7 separate regions of the Homo sapiens genome follow, and regions 2, 3, 4, 5, 6 and 7 are each linked to region 1. The links are contacts of gene promoters, found by promoter capture Hi-C in human tissues and cell types (Jung and others, 2019). All regions are on one chromosome and are shown on one strand. The core of a region is centred on a gene start or on the middle of the fragment in contact, and the rest is flanking DNA. Distances in the headings are between cores, read along the strand shown. Region 1 holds the start of LDB1 (LIM domain binding 1). Region 2 overlaps ARMH3 (armadillo like helical domain containing 3). Region 3 overlaps GBF1 (golgi brefeldin A resistant guanine nucleotide exchange factor 1). Region 4 overlaps ARMH3 (armadillo like helical domain containing 3). Region 5 overlaps ARMH3 (armadillo like helical domain containing 3). Region 6 overlaps GBF1 (golgi brefeldin A resistant guanine nucleotide exchange factor 1). Region 7 overlaps ARMH3 (armadillo like helical domain containing 3).

The links. The method cuts DNA at HindIII sites, captures the fragments that hold promoters and counts their contacts. A contact is called where the count stands out against the background at its distance.
Region 2: a contact is called between a fragment that was not itself captured here and the fragment with the promoter of LDB1 in region 1, in 1 of the 25 tissues and cell types used here (IMR-90 fibroblasts).
Region 3: a fragment that was not itself captured here is called in contact with the fragment with the promoter of LDB1 in region 1 in 2 of the 25 tissues and cell types used here (hippocampus and mesendoderm cells).
Region 4: a contact is called between a fragment that was not itself captured here and the fragment with the promoter of LDB1 in region 1, in 3 of the 25 tissues and cell types used here (mesenchymal stem cells, neural progenitor cells and thymus).
Region 5: a contact is called between a fragment that was not itself captured here and the fragment with the promoter of LDB1 in region 1, in 1 of the 25 tissues and cell types used here (IMR-90 fibroblasts).
Region 6: a contact is called between a fragment that was not itself captured here and the fragment with the promoter of LDB1 in region 1, in 2 of the 25 tissues and cell types used here (IMR-90 fibroblasts and lymphoblastoid cells).
Region 7: a fragment that was not itself captured here is called in contact with the fragment with the promoter of LDB1 in region 1 in 2 of the 25 tissues and cell types used here (hippocampus and mesendoderm cells).

Annotation. Positions count from the first base shown.
Region 1 is chr10:102,118,339-102,122,296 of GRCh38, reverse strand. It overlaps LDB1 (LIM domain binding 1), which reads left to right and starts at 1,929. Exons shown (of 11, transcript NM_001113407.3): 1 at 1,929-2,211. The coding sequence starts at 2,187. It also overlaps a transcript of PPRC1 not described here. RefSeq lists enhancers at 1-539, 540-1,291, 1,292-2,043, 3,749-3,958 and silencers at 1,540-1,669, 1,690-1,989, 2,050-2,129, 2,220-2,289. The HindIII fragment of the contact is 10,982 bases long and covers 1-3,958 here.
Region 2 is chr10:101,980,386-101,984,391 of GRCh38, reverse strand. All of the region lies in intron 19 of ARMH3 (armadillo like helical domain containing 3), which reads left to right. Among named protein-coding and RNA genes, the nearest start is that of ARMH3, 74 kb to the left of the region's middle. The HindIII fragment of the contact is 5,754 bases long and covers 1-4,006 here.
Region 3 is chr10:102,337,490-102,341,386 of GRCh38, reverse strand. The region is part of intron 3 of GBF1 (golgi brefeldin A resistant guanine nucleotide exchange factor 1); the gene reads right to left. Among named protein-coding and RNA genes, the nearest start is that of NFKB2, 56 kb to the left of the region's middle. The HindIII fragment of the contact is 4,292 bases long and covers 1-3,897 here.
Region 4 is chr10:101,866,987-101,870,687 of GRCh38, reverse strand. The region is part of intron 24 of ARMH3 (armadillo like helical domain containing 3); the gene reads left to right. The region is part of intron 2 of LOC101927445 (a long non-coding RNA gene); the gene reads right to left. Among named protein-coding and RNA genes, the nearest start is that of KCNIP2, 25 kb to the right of the region's middle. The HindIII fragment of the contact is 4,841 bases long and covers 1-3,701 here.
Region 5 is chr10:101,958,542-101,962,729 of GRCh38, reverse strand. All of the region lies in intron 20 of ARMH3 (armadillo like helical domain containing 3), which reads left to right. Among named protein-coding and RNA genes, the nearest start is that of ARMH3, 96 kb to the left of the region's middle. The HindIII fragment of the contact is 3,481 bases long and covers 1,035-4,188 here.
Region 6 is chr10:102,264,356-102,268,526 of GRCh38, reverse strand. All of the region lies in intron 3 of GBF1 (golgi brefeldin A resistant guanine nucleotide exchange factor 1), which reads right to left. Among named protein-coding and RNA genes, the nearest start is that of GBF1, 21 kb to the right of the region's middle. The HindIII fragment of the contact is 6,652 bases long and covers 1-4,171 here.
Region 7 is chr10:101,887,774-101,891,881 of GRCh38, reverse strand. ARMH3 (armadillo like helical domain containing 3) reads left to right here. Exons shown (of 26, transcript NM_024541.3): 24 at 2,392-2,470. Among named protein-coding and RNA genes, the nearest start is that of KCNIP2, 46 kb to the right of the region's middle. The HindIII fragment of the contact is 5,467 bases long and covers 1-4,108 here.

The sequences.
Region 1 (3,958 bases), core at 680-3,179:
GAATCTTGCGTTCAAACCTAGGTATCCACAATTTCGGGCCAGTGTTCTGTTGCCTTATGTTCTCTCTACTCCCTCTAGTGCTGACCTTTGTCTGGGAGAATGCAGGGAGGGGGTGCACTCAGGCAGGGGATGCTGCCAAGGAAATACTTGTGTGAGTGTGGATGGCTTCAGTCAGGTCCTCTCTGCTCCTGGTGGGGGTGGAGATGGGGAAACCTGGGGGTGGGAGACTCCACAGTGTACAAGCTCCCCTATCCCCCATCCTAAGCACATGGTGGGGAGGGTCTCCATTCCTAGGCAGGCCTTCTTTTCAATCCCTGGACTCTGCACCGTTCCATCATTTCATGCTCCCTCAGCAAAAACCTAAGGTGGAGAGAAGAGGTCTCATAAACACTTTAAGCCTCCGCATTTGTAACCCTCCCCCAGCCAGTCAAGCCAGCTGTGCAGACTCTGAGCCAGAGTGAGGGAACCAAACAGCCTTCTCAACCAACACCCCTCTAAGTAACAAAGAGGAGAACCCCCTACCCAGTCAGGGCCAGACGCCCTAGGGAGGAGACACTAGTCCAAGTCTCCATCGTCTATCCCTGGAGCCCATACTGAAACTTAAGAAAGAAAAGCTAGCAGCTGGGGACCCCAGGAGGGAGGGGGTCAACTCTCTACTCCAGGCGGCTCCCCTCCCTTCCCTCCTCCTGGCTAATAGGTATTTCCTGTTTATGAGGCAGCTAAAGCTGAGCTTTTGGGAAGGGATGGAGATGGAGCCCCTCCCCTCCTAGGGCTGGGTTGGGGAGTCCTTGAAGTGTGACTGAAGGTTGGGAGGCTCCTCCCAGGGGAAGGAGTGTTCCTTACATTGACCATCCACATCATCTCCCATCCAACCCCCCACGGCCCACAGCCTCTGCCTCTCTGGGTTAGGGGGCACTGGAGGGGCCTGTTTCCTGTTCTCATCTCCGAAGCCCTCAAAGGACAGCAGCTTCCAGGCAGGGGGGTCGGAGGCGGTGGGGTTGGGCGGTTGGTACGGAGGTGAAGGCACCAAGGCTGGAGAAAGGGGGGAAGGGAAGAGAGTGTCTTGACTGATGCGTCAGTCTGCAAGAAGGAAGGATGGCCTCCTATCGCCCCTCCGTAATCCAATCTGGTGGTCATTCCGCAGCCCCCTCCCCCCAGCAAAACACAGATCCCAAGCCCTTAGGCGGAGGAGGGCGGGGACCCCACTTAATTAACCCTTTTAGTTCTAGTCCCAACTGGTTTCGCAGGCAAAGGAGGAGTGGTTAATTTAGGGAAGGGGTGAGTTGAGGGGTTGCTACAAGAATTAAGAGAATGCTTCTTTACCCATCCAGCCTAGGGTAGGGACGCGAAACAAGGGGCCTCCAGAAGAAGGCTGGCGTCTCAGCAGGGAGCACGGACAGGGGGTCTGCAGTCCCTTTTCCCTCCCGGAGCGCGGCCCGGGGTGGAGAGAGATACACCACACTGCCCACCCCGGCTCCGCCTCCCCCAGCCGCGGCTCCCGCTCCGGCTCAGCCAGACTCCCCATCCGGCGGCACCCGGAGGACGGACACCGAGCGCGCGGCTGCGCCTCCAAGCCCTCCCCTTCGCCCTCCCTCTCTGGGGTCTCTGCCTCCGTCTCCTTTTTTAAAAGCTGCGTCACATGCATGCCGTTCCCCGAGCGCTCCCAGCCCCTCGCCGCCCGCCCGCCGCGCGGCGCACGCACGTCGTCGCTTGCTGCGCGCTCTCCCGGGTCACTTTGACACGGCTCTCCCCTCCCACTAGCAGGACAATTAGCATATTAATAAAGCCCGGCCCTGCCCGGCTTGGGCTGGGGAGCCGGCGCCGGCGCGAGGGAGCGCGAGCGCGAGGGCGGAGAGGGGGGCGCTCGGCGACGGCGGCGGGAGCGCACAGACACGCACACGCACACGCGCACACACGCACACACGGACACACACTCCGCGGACTCACACCCGCGCGCACACACGCAGAGGCCGCTCGCCTTCCTGCCTGGCTTCCTTCCTGTCTGCTCCGCGCCTGACAGGCCCCTCGCCGCAGCCAGGGGCCGCCCGCACCGGGCCGAGGCCGGGCCGGGCCGGCGGCGAGCGCAGCGGGGGCCGCGGGCGGCGGCGGCGGCTCATGCCCGGCCTGTCCCCGCGAGGGGCGGGCACCGTGACTCGGCTGGGCCCCCAGAGGCGGGCGATGTGAAGATGTCAGTGGGCTGTGCCTGTCCTGGTGAGTGGGGCGTGCGGCCACTCGGCCCCTTCCTGCCCAGCCGTCCCTGCGGACCCCTCACCCCGTGTTTGGCGAGAACTTGTGTGGGGGGCGTCGATGGCATGGGGGAAGCCGGGGGCTGGAAGGGCTACGCGGGGCCTCAGGCTGGCGGGTAGCGTTTTCCCCAACTGTGTAAATGCGCAGCAGCCCAGAAACACGGGGAGGAGACGCTGGGGGTGGCTTATGTGTATGTTTTTTTGGGGGTAGGCTAATTGGGGAGAGGTTTGGGGGGGGCTGAAATTCTCAGAATTCCAGGTTGTTAGCCAATCAGAAGTGACTCTGGACTTTTGACCCCCCCCCTCAGGTCACCATAGAGTTGTGATTGGCTGGTTTGGGCTGCCCCCCCTTCCCTGCTGCCCATTGCCTCTTACCTATCCTGTGACATCCCCCCCATGCTGTTTCTGAGGACCCTGTTTGCAGGGAGGTATTGATTGCGGCCCATCTTGCCCCCCACCTTCAACTTTTCCTGCCTGTTGCCAGGGAAGGTTGGCCCTCCTGAGGCACCGGAGGTACTCCTAAGAGGTGCCAGATAATTGGACCCTTGGGTCTGGCATCTCCGCCCTAGTGGGAGGGCAGGCTAGGAAATAGAGTGATTTGTGGAGAGGTAAGCTGGGGGAGCAATACTTGACCCAAAACTGAGAACTTGAGAGAGGACCCAGGCTCAGATCCCTGCCTCCCCAAAACATATCAGCTCTTGCCAGGGATAGCCTAGGTCTGAGTTTTTTTCCTGGGGGGCAGGTGGGGGGGGCGGAGGGCGTCTACCTCACTGCCAGGAGGAAAGAGAGAAGCCATGCGACTGGAGAGGTAGTCTACAGAGGGCCTCACGGCACACTGTCTGTCTCCATCCCCGGGACTCTGGGTCCTGGAATTGGCCCTCCTGCCCCAGACTGGAGTCAGCTTTCTCCTGGAAGTCAGTGTCCCTGAATGTAGCCCGCTTTGGCTACATACTTCACAGCTGGACACCCACCACTCCCCCACAAATCCCCAAGGGAAGCTGCCAGTGCGGAAGCTTCCTTGAAAATCATGTGACCCAGGCCAAGCTGGGCTGGGCACACACTTCAGGTGCCTGCTGAGGCTGATGTCTAAGGGGCATGGGTCCCAGAAGGAGGAATAAGAGAACCTAACAATCCTAGAATATCCGAGTATGGGAACCACTGGCTCCTGCTGCAGAGGGTTGGGGAGAGGAGAGGGAAGAGCTTGCCAAGCTGGAATCCTGTCTGGCCCCGTCGTCCCTCTTTCTACCAGCTTGGTGTACATGTTTATGTTGTGGATTTTCTCCTTTATAATTGACCCATGCTGGGTACCCCTTTCAGATCCATCATGTTCTTAGCCCACCCCAGGGCCCTGACCCTCCATCAACACACATGAGCAGAGCAGTTAAACTAAGGATCTGAACAAGCTAGAGGGATGAGTCTTAAATTGTGATTCTTAGTTCCTACAAATAGTGGGTAAGCGGGTATGTATGTATGGAGGGGTTGTCAGGCTGGAGGTGGATGGGAGGTTGGCCCTGAAGTTGGGGCAGGGTGCCTGGGTCCAGTGGGAGGAGAGAGAAAATCTCTTCTTCTTAGTCTCTGGGAGCAGCATGGGAACAGGAAGAGGGCCCAAGCCCAGGGGTTTGTGGGTGGGTGGGAAGACAACTTCAGTCAATGCCCCAGAAGGCATGTTCCTTTTGTGTCTGGTGGTCTGACTGAGGGAGAGAGGGCAAAAG
Region 2 (4,006 bases), core at 1,019-3,518, 140 kb after region 1:
CTCTCAAGTTCATGGGAAAATTGACAGATGAGTTTGTAGATTGCTAAGGCAAATCATGCTCAAACAAGGGCATCATTAAGTGACAACTGTATCAAACAGGATCACATCACAATTTCTAAAAATCAGCAAATTATTTGGAAACAATTAGGATGATTTATATTGCAACTTATGTCACTTGGTAAGCAATTTTGGTACAGGCTTATGAGTGTAAAAAAACATAGTGTTTTTTCTGTTTTCTCACTCAACAACGACAATCAACACAGAAGACTTCTATGACCAAATGTGGGGAGGGTTTAGTCCCTACACACCAAGCAAGCAATCAGTTCTGTAGCAGATAGCAGCTGGGTGTACTGTATTTCAATTCTGACACTATCTACCTGGAGGTAGTTTCAGATCCCATGGGTTTAGGGCTCAGTCCCTAAGACTACCCCTGGCTTTCAAAGCCAATCAGAAGCCCAAGGTTATTTTGCCTGTGTTTCTGATGGACCGGCTATAAATTGGGGTTCCTACAACCTCCTCCTTAGGTTTGATTAATTTGCTAGAGTGGCTCACAGAATTCAGGGAAACACATTTACCAGTTTATTACAAAGGATATTTTAAAGAAACATATAAACAGTCAGATGAAGAGATACATAGGGTGAGGTCTGAAAGGGTCTGGAGCCCAGGAGCTTCTGACCCCATGGAGTTGGGGTGTGCCAACCTCCCTGCACGTAGATGAATTCTTGTTCGCCTTCCTGTAGGCCTCCATGTGTTTAGCTATCCAGAAGCTCTCCAAACCCTGTACTTTTGGTTTCTTATGGAGATTTCATTATGTAGGCATGTTTGATTAAACCATTGGCTGGCCATGGTTCATGCCTGTAATCCTAGCACTTTGGGAGGCTGAGGTAGATGGATCACTTGAGCCCAGCCTGAGCAACTTGGTGACACCTTGTCTCTACAAAAATTAGTTAGGTGTGGTAGTGTGTGCTTGTAGTCCCAGCTACTTGGGAGGCTGAGGAGGGAGGATGGTTTGAGCCGTGGAGGTCAAGGCTGCGGTGAGCCGTGATTGCACCACTGCATTCCAGCCTAGGTGACAGAGTGAGACCTTGTCTCAAAAAATAAATAAAATAAAATAAAAACCACTGGCCATTGGTAATCAACTTAACCTTCAGCCCCTCTTCTCTCCCTGGAAGTCAGGGCTAGGGCTGAAAGCCCAGCTCGCTAATCATGCCTTGGTCTCCCTGGTGACCAACCCTCATTCTGAAGCTACCTAGGGGAGGCCAGCCGTCAGTCACCTCAACATACAAACAGACATCACTTTGGAGATTCTAAGGATTTTAGGAGTTGTATGTCAGGAAACAGGGTTGAAGACCAAATATATATTTTAGAACAGTGGTCCCCAACCTTTTTGGCACCAGGAACCAGTTTCATGGAAGACAATTTTTTCACAGATCTGGGGGCAGTGATGGTTTCGAGATGATCCAAGTGCATAACATTTATTGTGTATTTTATTTGTTATTATTACATCGTAATATATAATGAAATAATTCTGTAACTCACCATAATGTAGAATCAGTGGGAGCCTTAAGCTTGTTTTCCTGCAACTAGATGGTCCTGTCTGGGAGTGATGGGAGACAGTGACAGATCATGAGGCATTAGATTATCATAAGGAGCCACAACCTAGATCCCTTGCATGCGCAGTTCACAATAGGGTTTGTGCTCCTATGAGAATCTAATGCTGCCACTGATCTGACAGGAGGCAGAGTTCAGGTGGTAATGCAGACCATGGGCAGCAGCTGTAAATACAGTTGAAGTTTCCCTTGCTCACCTGCCACTCACCTCCTGCTGTGCAGCCTGGTTTCTAACCAGTACTCGTCCATGGCCTGGGTGTTGGGGACCCTTTTTACAATATCACAAGGTTAGTTTATTAGAGAATAAAAGGGAATGACTTAAAATTTTTCCATGTATGTATTGATTTATAGATTATTTTTCTGTACGGTTTGTAAAATACATGTTTTTTTCTTTTTTTGAGACAGTCTTACTCTGGCATCTAGGCTGGAGTGCAATGGCGCAATCTCAGCTCACTGTAACCTCCGCCTCCCGGGTTCAAGCAATTCTTGTGCCTCAGCCTCCCAAGTAGTTGGGATTACAGGCCTGCACTACCACTCCTGGCCAATTTTTGTGTTTTTTTTTTGGTAGAGATGGCATTTCACCATGTTGACTAGGTTGGTGTCAAACTCCTGACCTCAGGTGATCCACCCACCTTGGCTTCCCAAAGTGCTGGGATTACAGGTGTGAGCCACTATACCCGCTATACCCGGCCTGTAAAATATTTTTAATATCACTGCTGAAGGTACCCCAGTCTTTGTTTTTTTTTTTTTTTTTTTTTTTGAGATAGAGTCTCGCTCTGTCGCCCAGGCTGGAGTGCAGTGGTGCGATCTTGGCTCACTGCAAGCTCCACCTCACTGCAAGTTCACGCCATTCTCCTGCCTCAGCCTCCCGAGTACCTGGGACTACAGGCACCCACCACCGCGCCCAGCTAATTTTTTGTATTTTTAGATAGAGACGGGGTTTCACCGTGCTAGCCAAGATGGTCTCAATCTCCTGACCTCGTGATCCACCCGCCTCTACCTCCCAAAGTGCTGGGATTACAGGCGTGAGCCACCATGCCCGGCCTGTACCCAAGTCTTTTAAGAGAGTACTGTTTAAATAGTTTTTACTAAATTCTGTCTGAGAGGCTCCTGCAAGACCACTTAGGGAGTGAGAAGAACAGAGAGAGATGTGAATAATGGAGCAAGTAGAATAAGCTAATAAGGTAGCAATGGAGGCTTATTATTCGGAGTGCTATGAAAATATCTGGAGAAGAGTAATTTTAGGACTTTAGCTTATAAATTTAGTTCAATTCACTTGTATCCTTGGTACGTTGTTAGGCATTTTGTTTATTTATTTATTTTTAAGACGGGCTATCACTATGTTGGCCAGGTTGGTCTTGAACTCTTGGCCTCAAGCAGTCCTACTGCCTCAGCCTCCCAAAGTGCTAGGATTACAGGCGTGAGCCACCAAGCCTGGTCAGTTGTTAGGCATTTTAATTCCTCTACCTGGTGTCTCTGGCTCTCATTCTGCAGAGAGAGGTTAGTAGTGTTTTCTCTGCTTTCTTCTTTTCTCCTCTGGTAAGAAGCCCAAGAAATTAGCTACCCCTGTTTTTTTTCTTTTTCTTTTTTTTTCATTATTTCTTCTTAAAAAAACAAAAAAACGATTACATGTGCAGAATGTGCAGGTTTGTTACATAGGTATATGCGTGCCATGGCCTATTGACCCATCCTCCGAGTTCCCTCCCCTCACCCCCCAACCCCCCAACAGGCCCTAGTGTGTGTTGTTCCCCTCTCTGTGTGCATGTGTTCTCAATGTTCAGCTCCCACTTATGAGTGAGAGCATGCAGTGTTTGGTTGTCTGTTCTTGTGTTAGTTTGCTGAGGATGATGGCTTCCAGCTTCATCCATGTCGCTGCAAAGGACATGATCTCATTCCTTTTTCTGGCTGCATAGTATTTCATGGTGTATATGTACCACATTTTCTTGATCCAGTCTATCATTGATGGGCATTTGGGTTGGTTCCATGTCTTAGCTATTGTGAATAGTGCTGCAGTGAACATACATGTGCATGTGTCTTTATAGTAGTAGCTACCCCTATTTTAGCTTGATTCCGTCAGCTGTCAGATTGATACCCCACAGATTAATGTGGTGTCTGCTAAAGTCAGTAGGGTCTTGGGATATTCTTTGTCTCGGGTTATAGCCATAGAACTTGAAAGAGTCTCAGGCTGGGCACGGTGGCTCCCGCCTGTAATCCTAGCACTTTGGGAGGCTGAGGTGGGCGGACCGCCTGACGTTGGGAGTTTGAGACCAGCCTGGCCAACATGGTAAAACCCCATCTCTACTAAAAATATAAAAATCAGCCAGGCATGGTGGCAGGCATCTGTAATCCGAGCTACTTAGGAGGCTGAGGCATGAGAATCACTTGAACCCAGGAGG
Region 3 (3,897 bases), core at 504-3,003, 220 kb before region 1:
AACTCTTTTCCAATGTCATTTTATCACTTTGTATTCCCACTAGCAATAAGAATTCTAGTTTCTCCACATCCTCTTCAGTACTTTGTATTTCAGTGTTTTTACTTAAGCGATTCAAGTATGTATGTAATAGTAGCTCCATGTGGTTTAAATTTGCATTTCTCTAATGACTAATTATGTTGAACATCTTTTCATGTGCTTATTTGCCGTCTGTATATCCTTTTGGGTGACATGTCTGCTCAAGTCTTTTATCCATTATTAAACTAAATTGTTTTCTTACTATTGAGTTTGGAGACTTCTTTATTCTGAATTCAAGTCCTTCAGTAGTGATACAGTTATTTCTAAGTATTTTCTCCCAGTCTTAAGCTTATTTTTTCATTCCCTTAACATCTTTCATAGAACAGACACTTTTACTCTTGATGAAGTCCAACTTATTAATATTTTATGGATTGTGTTTTGGTTTAATGTCTAAATTGACTCTGCCTAATTCCAAGTCACAAAGATTTCCACCCTCCCATTTTCTCCTAAAATGTTTACAGATTTATGTTTTTCACCTATGATCTATTTTCAGTTAATTTTTGCATAAGGTGTGAGGTTTAGATTGAGGCTCATTTTTCCTTTGCCTAAGAATTTCCTACTGTTTCCAACATATCTCATTAAGTTGTCTTTGCACCTTTGTCAAAAATAAATTGACCAGGTTGGGCACTGGTCCCAGCACTTTGGAAGACTGAGGTGGGTGGATCCCTTGAGTCTAGGAGTTCGAGACCAGCCTGGGCAACATAGTGAGATCATCTCTACAGAAAATAATTAAAAAAACGGCCAGGCGTGGTGGCTCACGCCTGTAATCCCAGCACTTTGGGAGGCCGAGGCAGGCGGATCACAAGGTCAGGAGATCGAGACCATCCTGGCTAACACGGTGAAACCCCGTCTCTACTAAAAATACAAAAAATTAGCCAGGCGTGGTGGCGGGAGCCTGTAGTCCCAGCTACTCAGGAAGGCTGAGGCAGGAGAATGGCGTGAACCTGGGAGGCAGAGCTTGCAGTGAGCGGAGATCGTGCCACTGCACTCCAGCCTGGGCAACACAGCGAGACTCTGTCTCAAAAAAAAAAAAAAAAAAAAAAAGGCATGGACCAGGAGCAGTGGCTCATGCCTCATGCCTATAATCCCAGCACTTTGGGAGGCTGAGGTGGGTGGATCACCTGAGGTCAGGAGTTCAAGACCAGCCTGGCAAACATGGTGAAACCCCATCTCTACCAAAAAATACAAAAATTAGTGGGGCATGGTGGCGCGCACCTGTAGTCCCAGCTACTGGGGAGGCTGAGGTGAAAGAATATCTTGAACCCAGGAGGTAGAGGCTGCAGTGAGCTGAGATCGTGCCACTGCACTCCAGCCTGGGTGACAAAGTGAGATCCTGTCTCAAAAAAAAAAAAAAAAAATTAACCAGGTATGATGGCATGTGCCTGTAGTCCCAGCGACTCAGGAGGCTGAGGTGAGAGGATTGCTTGAGCCTGGGAGGCTGAGGCTGCAGTGAACTGTGATCATACCACTGCACTCCAGCCTGGGGTGACAGAGTAAGACCCTGTTCCAAAAAATAAAAATTAAATTGGCCATATTTTTGTGAGTCTCTTCTGGGTTCTGTTCTGTTTCATTGATCTATGTGTCTAAGTCTGACAACACGACACTGTGTTAATTATTATAAATATATACTAAGTCTTTTTTTTTTTGAGACGGAGTCTTGCTCTGTTACCCAGGCTAGAGTGCAGTGGCTCGATCTTGGCTCACTGCAACCTTGCCTCCTGGGTTCAAGCGATTCTCCTGCCTCAGCCTCCTGAGTAGCTGGGACTACAGGAACGTGCCACCACGCCCAGTTAATTTTTTTGTACTTTTAGTAGAGACGGGGTTTCACCATGTTGGCCAGGATGGTCTCGATCTCTTGACCCTGTGATCTGTCCGCCTCAGCCTCCCAAAGTGCTGGCATTACAGGCATAAGCCACTGTGCCCTGCCGATATATACTAAGTCTTTTTTTGAGACAGAGTCTCGCTCTGTCACCCAGGCTGGAGTGCAGTGGCATGATCTCGGCTCACTGCAACCTCTACCTCCCGGGTTCAAGTGATTCTCATGCCTCAGCCTCCTGAGTAGTTGGGATTACAGGCACACACCACCTCGTCTGGCTAATTTTTGTATTTTTAGTATAGACGAGATTTTGCCATGTTGGCCAGGCTGGTCTTGAACTCCTGACCTCAGGTGATCCACCCGTCTCGGCCTTCCAAAGTGCTGGGATTATAGGCGTGAGCCACCATGCCCGGCTTATACTAAGTCTTAATAACAGTGGTGTGATTCCTCCAACTTCATTTTTTTTTCCAATATCATTCAGTGTTCCAATTCCTTTGCCTTTCCATTTCAATTTAAGACAAACTTGCCTTGTTGGAAGTTTGAAAGGAATTGCATTGAGTCTATAGATCAATTTGGGGAGACATGATATCTTTGCTATGTTGTGCCTACCAATTCATGAACTTGGTATGTCTCTCCATTATTCAGATCTTCTTGGTTTCTCTCATCACTGTACTGATGAGCGCCACCACGCCCAGCTAATTTTGTATTTTTAGTAGAGACGGGGTATCTCCATGTTTGTCAGGCTGGTCTCAAACTCCCAACCTCAGGTAATCCGCCTGCCTTGGCCTACCAAAGTGCTGGGATTACAGGTGTAAGCCACCGCACCCAGCCGAGGCTCTGTGTGTAACCCTCACACAGCATACAATTCAGTCAATGGACTAGTCTCACTCCTATCAATAGCCAGATATATGATACCCAAGACCTTCATCTGTCAAATTAGATAGTTGAAATCGGCTGGGCGCAGTGGCTCACACCTCTAATCCCAGCACTTTGGGAGGCCGAGGTGAGTGGATCACTTGAGGTCACGAGTTTCAGATCAGCCTGGCCAACATAGTGAAACCATGTCTCTAATAAAAATACAAAAAAAATTAGCCTGGTGTGGTGGCACGTGCCTGTAATCTCAGCTACTTTGGAGGCTGAGGCATGAGAATTGCTTCAACCTGGGAGGCAGAGGCTACAGTGAGCCGAGACTGCACCACTGCACTCCAGCCTGGGTGACAGAAGGAGACTCTGTCTCAAAAAAAAAAAAAAAAAAAAAGAAGAAGGTTGTTGGAATCTATGACTGCTAAGATATGTTCATTCCAGTACTTTCATTTGGTAAGTCAGTGCTTTATAGAAACCTACTGATGAAAAACTAGAAGGGTTAAACTTTTTAATGAGCCCACCAGGAACCTTCATTATCATGTCACTTCCCTACCTCTTCCAAAAAAGAGAATCATGATATATAAAGTTAACTTTCCTTAAAGAGTTTTGTCTAGGGAGAACAAGAGTTTTGCTCTCTAGGTTCAACTGTTGATTGCCAGGAGCATAAGAGAAGCTCTAACAGGAGCAACTCTGCAACAAGTGGGGTTGGGGGCAAGTTGAACTCCTAGTGGGGCATCACTAGTAAGGATATTTCTTTCTTTCTTTCTTTCTTTTTGAGACAGAGTCTTGCTCTGTCACCCAGGCTGGAGTGCAGTGGTGTGATCTCGGTTCACTGCAACCTCTGCCTCCTGGGTTCAAGCGATTCTCCTGCCTCAGCCTCCCAGGTAGCTGGGATTACAGGCATGTACCACCAGGCCCAGCTAATTTTTATATTTTTAGTAGAGATGGGGTTTCTTCATGTTGGCCAGGCTGGTCTCAAACTGCACTCCTGACCTCAGGTGGTCCACCTGTCTCAGCCTCCCAAAGTGCTGTGATTACAGGCGTGAGTCTCCACGTCCAGCCTTTAGTAAGGATATTTCTAATTTAAGGGGTAACTTTTTGTAAACATGTAATTTAAAAACAAACAAATTTGAATTTATAAT
Region 4 (3,701 bases), core at 142-2,641, 250 kb after region 1:
TTTGTATAGGATTGGTTTTATTTCTTGCTTAATGTTTAGTAGCATAATCAGTGAAGTCATCTGGACCTATAGTTTTCTTTGTGGGAAGAATTTATACCCAATATTTTATTAGGGAAAATTTCAAACATATAGTAAAGTTGGAAAAAATTATATGGTGAATAGCCACATAACCCTCACCTAAATTCTGTTATTTACATTTCACTCTACTTGCTTTATCACATGTATAACCCATAGGATAGATCTCCATCCATCAATCCATCTTTTTTTAATGTGTTTCAAAGTAAAATGCATATATCAGTATACTTCTGTGGAAAACATTTTAATTGTTAGTTGAATTTCTTTAATAGATTTAGGAATAGTCAGTTTACTACTTGTTCTTGAACCAGTTTTAATCATTTGTGTCTTCAAGGAAGTTATTCATTTATGTAGGTTGTTGAATTTATTGGCATAATTCGTTCATAAAATTCTCCCTGTTCCTTGAAATCCCTGTAGGATTTATAGTGATGCCCTCTCAAATTCATGATATGAGTAATGTGTGTCTTTTCTCTTCTGTTGCTTATCAGCCTGGTTAGAGGTTTGTCAATTTTATTAATCTTTCAAAGAATTAGCTTTTAGTTTCATTGGTTTTCTGTTATTTTTCTTTTGTTTTCTTTTTAAGACAGGATCTCACTTCGTCACCCAGGCTGGAGTGCAGTGGCGCAATCTCTGCTCACTGCAGCCTCCACTTCCCAGGATCAAGTGATCCTCTGGCTTCAACCTCCTGAGTATCTGGGACTACAGGCTTCCGCCACCACACCTAGCTAATTCTTGTATTTTTTGTAGAGATGGAGTTTTGCCATGTTGCTCAGGCTGGTCTCAAACTCTTGAGCTCAAGTGATCCACCCCCCTCAGCCTCTCAAGGTGCTGGGATTACAGGTGTTACCACTATGCCCAGCCTGTTATTTTTCCTTTTCATTGATTTATATGGTTATCTGTATTATTTCCTTCTGTTTGCTTTGATTTAATTTGCTCTCTTTCTAATTTCATAAGGTAGAAATTTAGGTCATTGATTTTAGATCTTATTTTCTAATATGAAAAGTTAGAGCTGTAAATTTTTCCTGTGCTAACAACATCTCACAAATTTTGGTAGGTTGTGTTTTCATTTTCATTCAGTTTAAAATATTTTCTCATTTCTCTGGTGATATATAGTAATGTGTTTCATTTCCATTATTTGGGGATTTTCAAGATATATTTTTGTTACTAATTGCATATTTAATTCCCTGATGGTCAGAAAATATACTCAGTGTGATTACAATCCTTTTAAATTTATTGAGAGTTGCTTTATGGTCCATTGTACAGTCCATCTTGTTGAATGTTCTGTGTGCATTTGAAAAGAATGTGTTCCCTTGTTGTTGAGTTGTTTTCTATAAATCGCTTTTAGAAGTTAAGTATGTTGGTAGCTTTTAAATATTCTCTCTTTACTTATTTTCTGTCTGCTGGTGACCCTTAAACAACACCCAAGTTAGAGGCACTGGCCCCCTGTGCAGTTGAAAATTTGCATATTTTGACTCTTCAAAAACTTAACTGCTAATAGCCTACTATTGACCAGAAGCTTAACCTCTTTTTTTTTTTTTTTTGAGACAGAGTCTCACTCTGTCTCCCAAGCTGGAGTGCAGTGGCACAATTTTGGCTCACTGCAACCTCTGCCTCCCGGGTTCAAACGATTCTTGTGCCTCAGCCTCCCAAGCAGCTGGGATTACAGGCGCCTGCCACCACACCCGGCTAATTTTTGTATTTTTAATAGAAATGGGGTTTCATTATATTGGCCAAGCTAGTCTTGAACTCCTGACTTCAGGTGATCCACCTGCCTTGGCCTCCCAAAGTGCTGGGATTATAGGCGTGAGCCACCGTGCCTGGCCCAGAAGCTTTGCTGATAACATAAACAGTTGATTAACCCATATTTTATATATGTATTATATACTGTACTCTTACAATAAAGTTAGAGGAAAGAAAATGTTATTAAGAGAATCATAAGGAAGAGAAAATGTATTTACTATTCATTAAGTGGAAGTGGGTCATAAAGATCTTCCTCATCATCTTCATGTTGAGTAGGCTGAGGAGGAGGAAGGAGGACAGGGAGGGAGGGGTTGGTCTTGCTGTCTAAGGATGGCAGAGGCAGAAGAGGTGGAGGAGGTGGAAAGGGGAGGCAGGAGAAGTAGGCACACTTGGTATAACTAACTTTGTGGAAATCCATCATAATTTCTGTCTAACATTTTTACTTTTTTATTTCTCTGAAAAATGTTGCTATATGGTACCAGTCTTTTTCCACGATTTGCTTTAGTTCTATTGCCTGTATCATAGAATGGTTCATGTTGTAAAAGAAGTCAAAAGCAGTCTTGAATAATTGGAAACCTTCATCCAGATTGTCTAATGTCAATTTGTTTCTTGGCTCTGCTTCTTCTATGTCTTCTTCCTATTGTCTGGCACTGGTTGGGGAAGAACGCATCTCCCTCATGTCTTCTTCTGTTTATTCCTCTGATGTTGTGTCTGTTAGCTCTGGAATTTCTCCAAGATCCATATCTGCAACCTCTTTTGTAATTTCCTTGATTTGACTCTGTAGTAAATCCTGTGAAGTCATGCACAACATCTGGACACAGTTTTCTCCTGCAGAAATTTGTTGTTTTGGACTTGATGACTTTCATGGCTTTTTCCAATTCTTTTTTTTTTTTTTTAATAGAAACAGGGTCTCACTATGTTGCCCAGCCTGATCTCAAACTCCTGACCTCAAGCCATTCTCCTGCCTCAGCGTCCCAAAGTGCTGAGATTATAGCCATTAGACACCACCCCCAGCCTTTCATGGCTTTTTCTTTTTTTTTTGGGATGGGGTCTCACTCTGTCATACAAGCTGGGGCGCATTCACGTGATCACTGCTCACTGTAGCCTTGGCCTCCTGGGCTCAAGTGATCCTCCCACCTCAGCCTCCCGAGTAGCTGGGACCACAGGCATGCACCATCACACCCAGCTAATTTTTTATTTTTTGTAGAGGTGGGGTCTCACTATGTTGCCCAGGCTGGTCTTGAACTCCCGGATGCCAGCAGTCCTCCCACCTTGACCTCCCAAAGTGCAGGGATTACAGGTGTGAGCCACTGCACCTCGCCCATGGCTTTTTCTGTAACAGTGATGGCATCTTCAGTGTTGTAATCCTTCCAGATTTTCATGATATTCTCTCCAATTGGGTTTTCTCCCACAGCATTGACAGTCCTTTGCATAGAGTACCATATGTAATGAGCCTTAAAGGTCTTTATGACCCTCTGATTTGGAGGCTGAATTAGAGACATCTTTGGGGCACCCATGGTTGGTGCTGAATTCGTGGGGTCATGGGTAGCCAGTGGCATTGTACAGTATCAAAAGAACTTTAAAAGGCAGTTCCTTACTGGCAGGGTGCTTTGCGATTTCAGAGACAGAATCAATGGAACCAATCCAGTAAAAGAGTTTTTGTTGTCCAGGCCTTCTTGTCATATAACAAGAAGACTAGCAGAAGATTAGCAAGATAAAAACTAGGTGTTTTTCTTTTCCTTTCAAGACTCAGGGCTTAAAGGTTTATAGATAAGGGCACTCCTCATCATAAACCCAATTGCAATTGCACAAAGCAGGGTTACTGTTCCTGCCTTAAATCTTGTCGGTCACTTTCCTTCCTTACTAATAAATGTCTTTTGCAGAAA
Region 5 (4,188 bases), core at 1,526-4,025, 160 kb after region 1:
GTCCTTAATGCAGTTTAGCTCCAACCAGCATATTGGCTTTGGGTAATTTATTTAACCTTTCTGAATTTTGATTTGCTCATCTGTAAAATGGGAACAATAATACCTACTTCATCAGATAGTTAAGAGGATTCAGTGAGAAGAATATAATTTAAGTGCTTTACATAATATCTAGCACCTAGCAAGCACCTAATAAGTGTTACCTTTCCTGCCATTTATGACCATGGTATTTCTTACTTTGAAAAGAGGTGAATGTAGTTTGAGGAAGGTGATTTCTGTAGTTAAGTGTCTTTTTTTAAGGTATCAGATAGAGGGTAAAAAAAAAAAAAGGAAAGTTTGAGATGCTCTGTGTGAGCTTCTGGACACAGTTATTAACTTGTAGTAGTTGTCATTCTTCTGGAGGAAATGATGCATTCCTCTGTGATGTGTCTCTTCACGTTGGTATTTTGGGACAGCGCATTCCCAGGGATGTGGAGTATGGGCCCATGGGCATTATCTCTTCAGGTTTGGAAAGTCTCAACTACCAAGCTTGCCCTTACCCAAAAGGATATTCTCTGCGACAAGCTATGCCATTCTCTTTTGAGGGAGTGAGCAGCCATTGCTCACCTAATGGGCAAAGCTGTTTACACAGTGTTAAGTTTCTATACCATAAGGTCATGCTTCGTTGGAAATCTCTCAGACCAGGAGTCAGGCCTTTGGTGAAGAATCCTGTATTAGCCCTTTTGCCCCACTTCATTTTAGAAACTATTATTTAACAATGAGAAACATGATAAGGCAAAGGATTAAATTAAATGGTACATCCTGTCCCTCATATCTTCATGACTGCAACATTTACTGTACTTGATTGCAAAGTCTTACAGATGTATGACTGATTAACCGTACTATGTTTATGCAATCATCCCCTTATTTTTTAGTTATCTTAATTCTTCCCTGTATGTACTGCTACTTCTGTGAGTGTCCTTGGAACAATTTGGCTGGTCATGTGCCCAGATGACATCAAGTGGACAAGTGGATCAAGGGCAGTTTTCTAAAAATGTGTGTGTATGTAGAGGGGGTGAGTCAGGAGCCTGTTAGCATGAGCTCTGTGTTGGCACTGAGATCCTGAGTGCCAGTTCTCTGCTGTCCTTGAAACTGCTCCTGACACAGGGCATTTTCTTCTTTGGCCTAAACCTGTCTTTTTTGGCATAAACCCTGTGCAAAGCTCGGTCCATAATAGTTTATAAATAAACCTGGTTATTAATTGTTTATACCCATATTTTTTTGTTTTGGTTCTGATTTTTTCTAAAGAAAGGGGATCTTGGCTCCCTTTAATGTCCATATCCAATCATCTTCCATTGGCAGTACCTAATTTTGAAGAAGGCAACACTGACTGAGGGAATTAGGAACAGTTTTAGTTGATAGTTATGTGCTTAAAAAAAAAAAGAGAGAGCAAGCAGCCACAAGGGATAGAGAGGTGGAGGTGAGAGCTGAGATGTAGATAAGACAGCAGAGAGCAGGCCAAGGAGCTGGCAGAGAGGCCTGCTGAGGTGGCTCGTGCTGAGCAAAGCTTCTGGGAGTCTTTTTGTGTTGCCAGTGAGTGACAGGAAGGCGATAATGAGGTATTAAATACTTGTACTTTAACAGGTAGCTGAGGACCAAGGGAAAATGGGGACCAAATACATGAAAATGACGTAGAGCAGCCAACAGGTGGAGAAAGTTATAAACCAGAGTCTAGAGAAGTGCTGATAACAGTATAGTCAGCAGATCTAAGCACACCATTTATAGTAAGCTGTAACCCCACTTTCACGTTCAGCTTGATCTCGCACCTTTATTTGTTTAATCTTCTTTTTTTTTTTTTTTTTTTGAGACGGAGTTTTGCTCTGTCGCCCAGGCTAGAGTGCTGTGGTGCAATCTCGGCTCACTGCAAACTCCGCCTTCCAGGTTCAAGCGATTCTCCTGCCTCAGCCTCACGAGTAGCTGGGATTACAGGTGCCCGCCACCGTGCCTGGCTAATTTTTGTATTTTTTAGTAGAGACGGGGTTTCACCATCTTGGCCGGGCTGGTCTCGAACTCCTGACCTCATGATCAGCCTGCCTCAGCCTCCCAAAGTGCTGGGATTACAGGCATGAGCCACTGTACCTGGCTTATCTTCTTAATGGCATGGTAGAAAGAACACTAAACAGGTGACAAGGTCCTAGTCCCAGCTTAGTCACCAGCTAGTTTGGGGTGAGGGTGGAATGGGGCATGGAGTTTTCTTATCCAAAAATGAGGAAATCGGATTAAATGACCTAAGGCATTTTCTAGCTCTAAAAATCTATAATCAGCTATGTCAAAGCCTCACAGACTTAAAACTCCCATCATATCAGGTCAGAGGCTAGAATCTGTGTGTAGTGGTGTATAGGACACTGAACAGTTGATATAGTGAGTGCAAAGTCAAGGAGATTATGATGGAGAAAAGCACTATTTCATGGGATATTTGGGACATTCTCTCTTGAAGAAGAATTACCATCTGTGATGTCAGAGGCTTCATTTTAGTTGCCTATTAAATTCCCTGTAGATAGTTCTTTTTTTTTTTGGAGAAGGAGTCTTGCTCTGTCGCCCAAGGTGGAGTGCAGTGGTGCGATCTCGGCTCACTGCAGCCTCCGCCTCCCGGGTTTAAGCAATTCTTCTGCCTCAGCCTCTCGAGTAGCTGGGCCTACAGGCGCACACCGCCACGCCCAGCTAATTTTTTGTATTTTAGTAGAGACAGGGTTTCACCGTGTTGCCCAGGCTGTTCTCGAACTCCTGAACTCAGGCAATCTGCCTGCCTTAGCCTCCCAAAGTGCTAGGATTACAGGCGTGAGCCACTGCGCCCAGCCCCTGTAGAGAATTCTTACTTCCAAGTGAGAAGACCTTGGTTCTTGGGGGAGCAGAATATCTGACCTGCATTTTCAGGGGCAGAATGCAAGCCACTCTGGCACTGACTCTCAGAGTATTGTGGTACTGGACTCTCCCTTTCAATACTCTGGCTCCGCTAATGCCTGTGGCAGTTGGGACACAGGTTGCCCGTGCCAGAGTTGCTCTCTTCCTCCTCTAATATTTCTCACTTTGTCATCCTGGATTCTGAATCCCAGAGATCAAGACTAGCTGTAGTCCAGCAGAGGAGCAATAAATCATTGCTCCCACATCCTTTCCTCCAGGTTTCCTGCCCTTTAATTACCACATAGCCACTGCTGAGGCTGCATCTCTGTGCTGTGTGTCCTGGGGACAAAAGCCCTTGTTGATGGGATGTGTGCAAAAGCTGCTTTGTCTCTAGCCATTACGTTTTGCAGAGTGCCAAGCGTGCTGCCCATCCCTTTCTCTCGCCTCTATGATTTTATAGAGTCCGATTGTCAGGTAGTATATCATTAACAGGGCTTGTCTAAACTCTGGGGATTAGGTGGTGGGGTGGGCAGCCCCCACGTAGCTCACTCAGCAAGGTGATCTTCTTTAAGGAGGGAAGTTTGGGTTAGTCATTTTTATGTGAATTTTAGCTAGCCCCATTATTCCTGTGCTCCTGGTAGGAGCTAAGCAGGTTGTGTGATCCTGAATGGGCTCCCTTGGAGCCTTTTTGTCCCCCCAGTCCAACAGATACTTGATCACTTAACAGACACCATTAAAAGGGCCAGCTGCCTATCATTTGCCTTTTCATTATGAAACCCCAGAGAACTCAAGTTGGGGCCGGGGTAAAGAGTTTATAAATGAAGATGCCTATCTCCTTCATGCCTGGCAAGGCTTTTTTTTACTATTTGAGGGGAAGATTCAGGCTTTAGAAACAGAATGTGGGTGAAGCCAGCCTCTTGTACTTTCCTTGCCTGCTGTTTCTTTACTGTACCTGTGCTTTTAAAGGATTGAGAGTGAGGGGTGTTGTGTGGTAGGCAGCAAGAGTCTGGAGAGTCTCACTCCTACTCATCATTCCCTGCTGTTCCAAATCAAAGCTCACATCTCTACTTTAAGAGTAGTAAACTTCACACAAAACTCTGACAGCATGGGAGAATGAACTTCTTTGCTGGCAAAGAAGCAGATATGGTCCTAGAAAAAGAGAGGTCAAGCCTTTTCTTGGGTCTGTGGAAGGTGGGGGTTTGTGGGGGAGAAGACAGAAGGACCACAGATTGCCTGCAGCTGCTGAACCCCTTTATAGTATCCCATCAAGTAGGGGAGGTAGGTACAGGGGCATTATCTGAGATGGGCAGA
Region 6 (4,171 bases), core at 1,303-3,802, 150 kb before region 1:
GAAGTTTCAGGCCTCAAGAGGTAGCTGTGCTAAAGAGGACAAATGCAATAAAAACACCAGCAACTTTGATACCCACCACAAACCACACTGTTACACTGCCCCCTAACCTTTGCTACAAAGAAATTAGGTTTCTCTGTTTTTGAGAGCTAAACTATTAAGAATGCTTTTCCCTCTTTTTACACAATTCCTTTTCTGATACATGCAGTAGAAAATGTGCCCCCTCAACAGCCAGGAAACTAGTTCTGATGGCTAAGTGTGCCTGGGTATGAGGAAGAGAAAAAGAGAGAGCTGAACCCATGAGAGGACAGATTATGCAGAGCTGTTTCTTCTCAAGAGTCTTCATTTCCTAACCTTGAGTACAAACAAATGTTTGGAAGAACTTCTTGGTTTAAAAGTGTCAAATGAAGAGCATTCATAAATCATCTGGGGAAGGCCCCAGTAAAAAGAAATGGCAAAATCAAGTCATCAAAATATAGGCCTCTTGGAGCTACCCTTTTAATATGAATAGTCCCTGGGGAAAAAAAGAATCACAGTACCTTTATTCACTCTAACTGTGCTGAAATGTCTACAAGTCTGTGGCCACTCAAGTTACAGAGATTCTAAGGTGCCAAAGTCAGTCTGACTCAAATTCAAGTCACATTCTAATGTATTACTCAACTATAGTTTTATATTATAAACCAAGAAAGTAAAACAGGGCACAGGAAATGGATACTTTTAAGTGTGCCCATTGCCTTTCCTAACACTCAGCCCTTCACAAAATTTGTCTGCCAAATTTTATCACATTTGGTTCTTTTAGTTCCTACTTAGGCCTTGAACAATTCACAAGCTCAATTCCAAGTGGAACAAAAGCTGATGACCCATTCAACCTTCTTCTCATGCTGATTAATAATGATATATTACTTTACTCCCTAAACTATAGACCCCTGTAGGAAAAAATAAAAGTAGGCACTTAATCAATAGGACTCCAGCAAATTTTTTTCATATAACATACTCGCTTTTGTTGTTGTTGTTGTTGTTGTTGTTGAGATGGAGTCTTGATCTGCCACCCAGGCTGGAGTGCAGTGGCACGATCTCAGCTCACTGCAATCTCACCTCCTGGGTTCAAGCAATTCACCTGCTTCAGCCTCCTGAGTAGCTGGGACTACAGGCATGCGCCACCGCACCTGGCTAATTTTTGTATTTTTAGTAGAGACAGGGTTTCACCATGTTGGCCAGGCTGGTCTCGAACTGCTGACCTCAAGTCATCCACCCGCCTTAGCCTCCCAAAGTGCTGGGATTACAGGTGTGAGCCACCATGCCTGGCACATATAATATACTCTTATTCAATCTTTTTCCTGACAATGACTACTAAAATCTCTTTTCTCTACACCTCCCCATTTTCCAAATGAAACAGATTAAACTTGAGGTATCAGGCATTCTCAAACAGTTTCTTTTCTACCTAAGCGGCTACTGCTAAGAGGCCCAGGCCAGACAGGTGTTAAGTCATAGTTCCTCCCAAGTTGGCTTCCAGACTCTGTTTAAATGTTCTCTGCAAACCTCTGGAGGTTAGATGGACTCAAACCTCCTAGCTCAGACTCTGAATTCACAAAGCTTGAGACAGACAGTACCCTACAGGTGTGTTTGTCCAGGATAAACTATACTTAAATAAACTCCTGACACATCCACTTTCTCCTGGCACGTGCTTCTCCCTCTTAAACTCAAGCACGCCATAACCTGCTGTCCCAGTAAGCTCTGTAAAGAAATATCCTATCCCCCAGAATTACGCTATGCAACCCACCAATGTCTTTGGGAATAGCTAAACTCTGGCCATAACAGCTTTACATGTGAAAGCCAAATAAGCAAATATGAGCTATTGTTTTTACTTATTTCTTTGGCTTGTTCCTTAAGGAAAGAGCAGGAATAAGAAAAGCTGGCAGCAGATTGCTCTCACTCATGGTCATCCATTCCATGCCTGATAGGGACCATATAGCATAAAGTAGAGGCTACAAAATGTTAGCTTTGGAATGATCAGCTAGAGTCATTAGTCCTGTCAAACCAGTGGCTATGAGGGCAGGAAGTCTGACTGATTGTTTACCATTACAGACCCACTTCCTAAGTACCTAAGAAAAATGCCTGGCACATACCAGATAGTCAATAAATATCAGTTAGAAGCAACTCAATAAGCTAGGCCCTGAAGGAATCCAAATCTTGGAGAATCCCCAAAAGAAAAGGTCTAAGAAGCTAGAACAATGTTATAGTTAATATGGGTACCTATACTGGGCCTCAAGACCACCTTAGTTTTTTTTTTTGAGACAGAGTATCGCTCTGTCACCCAGGCTGGAGTGCAGTGGCACGATCTCGGCTCACTGCAAGCTGCGCCTCCCAGGTTCAGGCCATTCTCCTGCCTCAGCCTCCCGAGTAGCTGGGACTACAGGCGCCTGCCACCATGCCCGACTAATTTTTTGTATTTTTTTAGTAGAGACGGGGTTTCACCGTGTTCGCCAGGATGGTCTCAATCTCCTGACCTCGTGATCTGCCCGCCTCGGCCTCCCAAAGTGCTGGGATTACAGGCGTGAGCCACCGCACCCGGCCCTCCACCTTAGTCTTACACTGAGAACCCCAGTCCTGATAACCAAAACTGGACATTAGGTCCTCAGAGCTAAAAAGACCTGGGACTAAATCTCCAAAGGCAAACTCCTCACCACCACACCCTCACACGCACATAGACACACGCACACCCTAAGAAGTCTTCCTCAAGCCCTGGCCCTGAAGGCTTTAAAGTAAGTCATTAAAAGATGATCCCATAAGAGAAGATTTTGGTTGTGATACTTTCTTTCATTCATTCATTCATTCATTCATTCATTGAAAGGGTCTCACTCTTGTCACTCAGGCTAGAGTACAGTGGCGCAATCATGGGTCACTGTAACCTCGAACTCCTGGGCTCAAGTGATCCTCTCGCCTCAGCCTAAGTAGCTGGAACTACAGTTGTACGCCACCATACCCAACTAATTTTTTTTATTTTTATTTTTGTAGAGATGGGGGGAATCTTGGTATGTTGCCCATGCTGGTCTCGAACTCCCAGCCTCAAGTAATCCTGCTGTCTTGGCCACCCAAAGTGCTAGATTACAGATGTGGGTCACTGCACCTAGCCTGGTTGTGATACTTTTAGACTGTTCCTCTCCTGTTTTAAACCAAAAATTTTCTGGAAAAGAATCTCTTTGTAATGATCTAAGTTTAAAGACCAAGGACAAAGACAGACTATATCTGGAGGCAAATGACTACAACCAAACACCACAACTCACAACTGACTATAGCCCTTTCCATAAAGCTATACTGGATGAAGGGAACTAAGGCTTGCAAGAATTTATCTAGTCTGGGAACAAAGAGATCAAAGACCACAGACCATATTGGCTAGAAGCATTCCCATAAACTGTCTACTCTTGTCAGATCTAAAACCAAGAGCAATATCAAGTATCCTGATATTTCACTTTCCCTTCCATGCCCCATCCCATGCCACAGATCCTACCACAAGGTCTAGCTGCGAGACTGAAGATAACTCCCATATGCAAGAGCCCCAAAAGATTCTTAGAAGAATAAAAGGAAATGTGTCTTTGGAATCTAAACCCATGGCAGGGCTTGGGCAGATGTAAGAGAGAGGCAGTGGCCCTTCTGCCCCTAAGGCCAGGACACCCCAGCCCTGCAGGCAGCACAGAGTTAACTACCCACCCGCTCTGAGAAGCACAAAGGTACATCACTGCAACATGCCTAACATTTACATTGCCTCTCTCTGCTCATTAAACAGGTTTTGGTTAAATAATGAACAAACTGTATTACAGACTCCAATGAGAATTCCAAAATTATAAATCAACTGGGAAAGCCCAAAGGGGCAGACAGACAGGGAGGGGGGAGAAGGATAATATTGACTAATATAAAGGGCGCAGCTTGACAGTGGATATTCCTGCCACACCTGATCAAACACACTCCGTGGGGGGAGGGGAAAGAGAGCAAGAGAGGGAAGATGGGACAAGACAGCCTGAAATTTGCATCCGGAAAAGATTAAAACGGATTCTTTGGGGATAGAGAAAATACATAATATATATTACTATAAATGCAAAACTGTACTAAAAGCTAACTCAAATGTCAAAGATTACAGTTTGAATAAATTTAAATATAAAAGCCATGTGCTTCCTTG
Region 7 (4,108 bases), core at 784-3,283, 230 kb after region 1:
TCACCTTAGCCTCTCAAAGTGCTGGAATTACATGCGTGAGCCACCACGCCTAGCCCACACTACCCATTTTAATAAACTTTCTGTTTTGGAATAATTTTAGATTTATAGAAAAAGTAAAAAGATAATCCACAGAGTTCCTGGATACCCTCAGCCTAATTTCCGTCATTTTATGTCACCAAGGTACATGTATCAACACTAAGTAACTGGCATTATTATTAACTAAATTCCGTATTTTAATTAGATTTTACCAGTTTTTCCATTAATGTCCTCTTGCTGTGCCAGGGTCCATTCCAGGATATGCATTTAATTGTCATATCTCCCCAGTGATTTGTGACAATTTCTCAACTCTTGTTTTTCATGACTTTTAGAGTCTTAAGAAAGTACTGGCTGGGCACGGTGGCTCACACCTGTAATCCCAATACTTTGGGAGACCAAGGTGAGTGGATCACCTGAAAGGTCAGGAGTTTGAGAACAGCTTGGCCAATGTGGTGAAACCCCATCTCTATTAAAAATACAAAATTAGCTGGTCATGGTGGCGGGGGCCTGTAATCCCAGCTTCTTGGGAAGCTGAGGCAGAAGAATTGCTTAAACCCGGAAGGTGGAGGTTGCAGGGAGCTGAGATCGCACCATTGCACTCCAGCCTGGGCAACAAGAGCAAAACTCCGTCTCAAAAAAAAAAAAGGAAGAAAGAAAGAAACTACCAGTCAGCGTCAGGAGCAATGGCTCATGCCTGTAATCCCAGCATTTTAGGAGGTGAGGAGGGAGGACTGCCTGAGCTCAGGAGTTTGAGACCAGCCTGGGCAATCTGGCAAAACCCCATCTCTACAAAAAATACAAAAATTAGCCAGACATGGTGGCACATGCCTGTAGTCCCAGCTACTTGGGAGGCTGAAGTGGGAGGATTGCTTGAGCCAAGGAGATGGAGGCTGTAGTGAGCCATGTTTGTGCCACTGCACTCCAGCCTGGATGACAAAGTGAGACCCTGTCTCAAAAAAAAAAAAAAAAAAAATACCAGTCAGGTATCCTGTAGAATGTCCCCTGTCTGATATTTTTCTTGTGATTAGATTGAGATATTAAGTGCCCTTCTCATCAGATCATACCAAGGGTTACATGGTATCTACATGATATCACTGGCAATCTACAGCTTCATCATTTGGTTAAGGTAGTGTTTACCAGGCTTCTTTGCTATAAAGTTACTGTGTTTCCCATTTGCTACTCTAGTCTTTGGCAATAAATCACTAAATCTAGCCCACCCTCAGGAATGAGAAATAAACTTCATTTCCTATAGGGAGAAGTATCTACATATATTATTTGAAATTGTTCTATGAGAAAGATTTGTTGGCCAGCCGCTGTGGCTCATGTCTATAATCCCAGCACTTTGGGAGGTGGAGACCTGTGGATTGCTTGAGCCCAGGCTTGAGCCTGGGCGACATGGCAAAACCGTGTTTCTACCAACAAAATACAAAAATAATTAGCCGGGCATGCTGGCACATGCCTGTAGTCCCAGCTGCTAGGGAGGCTTAGGTGGGAGGATCGCTTGAGCCTGGGAGGTTAAGGATGCAGTGAGCCATGATTGTGCCACTGCATTCCAGACTTGGTAACAGAGTGACACCCTGTCTAAAATATAAATATAAATAAATATATATATATATATGAAAAAAAGAGATTTGTCTCTCTCTATGAATCATTTATATTCATATGGACTCATGTAAAACCCTGATCTAAAACCTGTGTTCTTTTTGCTACACCAGGCAAGAAATGACAAAGACCTATACCAAGGCACTGGTTTCAGGGAAATTTATTTCAGATTTCAGAGATTTTTAAGAGGTAGATTTGATAAGACTAGGTAATTTTGGATGTGACTAAGTGATGGAGAAGGGAGTGTTTTAAAATGACACTCAGCTTTTGGGTTGAATGGCCGGATATAAAATTTTGGTTTGAAACTATTTACTAACAAGTATGAAGATTGCTTCTATTTAGCCTATATGTTGTTGGCCCAGCTTTACTGAGTGCCCTGTTCTCCCAAGTCAGACAAGACAGCTTTTCTTTCTGATTGAAGCACCAGGGCCCCCTAGTGGACAGCCCTCTGGGTTCCCTTTCTCATCTGAAGGACTCAATATTTTTGTTTGGCTTTGGGTTTTTTCCGTTAGTTCATTTGCAGAGCAGAGATGCTTGATTCTATTTTCTGTCTAATAGTAAATCCTTCCCACTTCAGAGTTATCAATTCACCCCCATTTGTGACTACCTCATGTTCAATAAGAGGAAGTTACCCAGTCACAATCGGTCCCATGCTCTAGTACTCTAAACCAGAGGGTACTTGATCCTTATTTTTTAACAGATGTATCCACCTCTTCTATCTGGCACCATATTAATACGAATTCTTTGTTTCAGAGCCATCATCAACCACTTTAACCCCAAAATTGAGTCCTACGCTGCTGTGAATCACATATCCCAACTGTCAGAGGAGCAGGTAAGCCACTACTTTCCCCAGATGACCTAGTTGGTGGCTAGGATCAAGCAGTTGCCTTCTCTCTGATGGCAGGGGGATTCTGTGACTGAGCTTTTGTGGTAGTGACCAGGGCCAGGCTGCTGAGAGGAATTAGTGTGGGGTTGGTTGATAGTACTTTTAATACAGAGTGATGCTGTCTGCGTTTGTGCCATCTGAAGGGTTTGTTAATTATATAGAAGATATGTAGGTGAAAATCTGGTGAATTATTTGTTTTAGAGTGTGATAAGGCATTTCTTTTTTTAAAATTTTAGGCAGAGAGTCATTTTGATTTTTGAAAATAAGAAATGAGAACTTAGAAATGGATGAAACTGCCAATTAGAAAAACCCTGAGTTCAGCTTAATTTGAAGCTATTTGGCTCGTTAAAACATGAGCCCTCATTGGGACAGATTTTCCTTAGTAATTGAGTTCTCTTTGCCTTGAGCAATTATTTTTGAGGAGGTTTTTCTGTGGTATGGACTGAGTTAGAGATGCAGATAGCCTTGTGTCTTTGTTTTCTTTAAATCTGGCCTGATTTCCCCTTCTCCCAGAGTGCCTGCACTCAGCTCTGCATTATATAAAAGTACAGATGAGGCGTTAGCGTGGCATGGGATTGAACTTGATGTGTCAAAATGAAACTCTTGAGTCCTTTTTTAAAAAGCACTAAATAAGACATCCTATTCACATGGTTCCCTTTCCTTTTCATCCTACTCCCAAATTGGAGGGGCCAGGGTATAGACCCCAAGCCAGTAGGAAGACCATATGTGCCCTGTTCTTCCTTTTTTGCCAGTGCATCTTTGTAACCCTTGTTTGAGCTTCTTGCTGGCAGAGCCAGCCAGCCAGCTATGATTTGACCATGTGTTTCAGTGTTCCTCAAAGCTATTCAGTTCTCCCAGTGAAGCACCAAGCAAGCCTTTTTCCTAATAGACAAGCTTCTCAGTATTCCCACCAGTGGCTCTTTTCTCAGCCAGATGGATAGGACTCTATTAGTCTGTCAGTTGTTCCCTTTGACATATTTGTTCTCTTTTGTGAGCCCAGCTGTGAGAATCCATCCTCACATTTAAAACTGCTTTTATAAATGGCCTTCATTTCCTTTTTTCCTCTCTGCCTGTGGAGCTATCCTGAATCCTGTTCTTTGATGCTGTGCTGTCTGTGAGGTGCTTTGTGATGCTACCATTTTCTTGTTGGACTAGTTCACATTAATTTTACTATATCATTTTTATGCAAAATAATTCAACATCTTGAGTTTTATGCAGTAAGAGAAGGGGTGACTTTCCTACCACAGTGAGCTCTGGTTAGTCTAAAAGCTTTTTTTTTTTTTTAAAAAAAAAAAAAAGGAGACATTTACTCTGTCAGCCACGTGCAGTATTCATCCCCCAGCAGCTTGGGAAGGTCAAGCTGAAATCTTTCTCCAGCAGTAGCTGCCACAGACCAATAATAAAAATCCTTTCTGGCACACAAGGCAATCTGTGAAAGGATGATTAGCAAGCACGTGTCCTCAGCCTCCTCCAACTTCTTTCAAAGTTAAATGAAATGATGAAAGTGCCTCTCAAAAAGAGTGCGCAGGCCAGAGACGAAGCGATTTCAATGGAGAGGGATTTCATAGGAGAATGGGGAAAGGA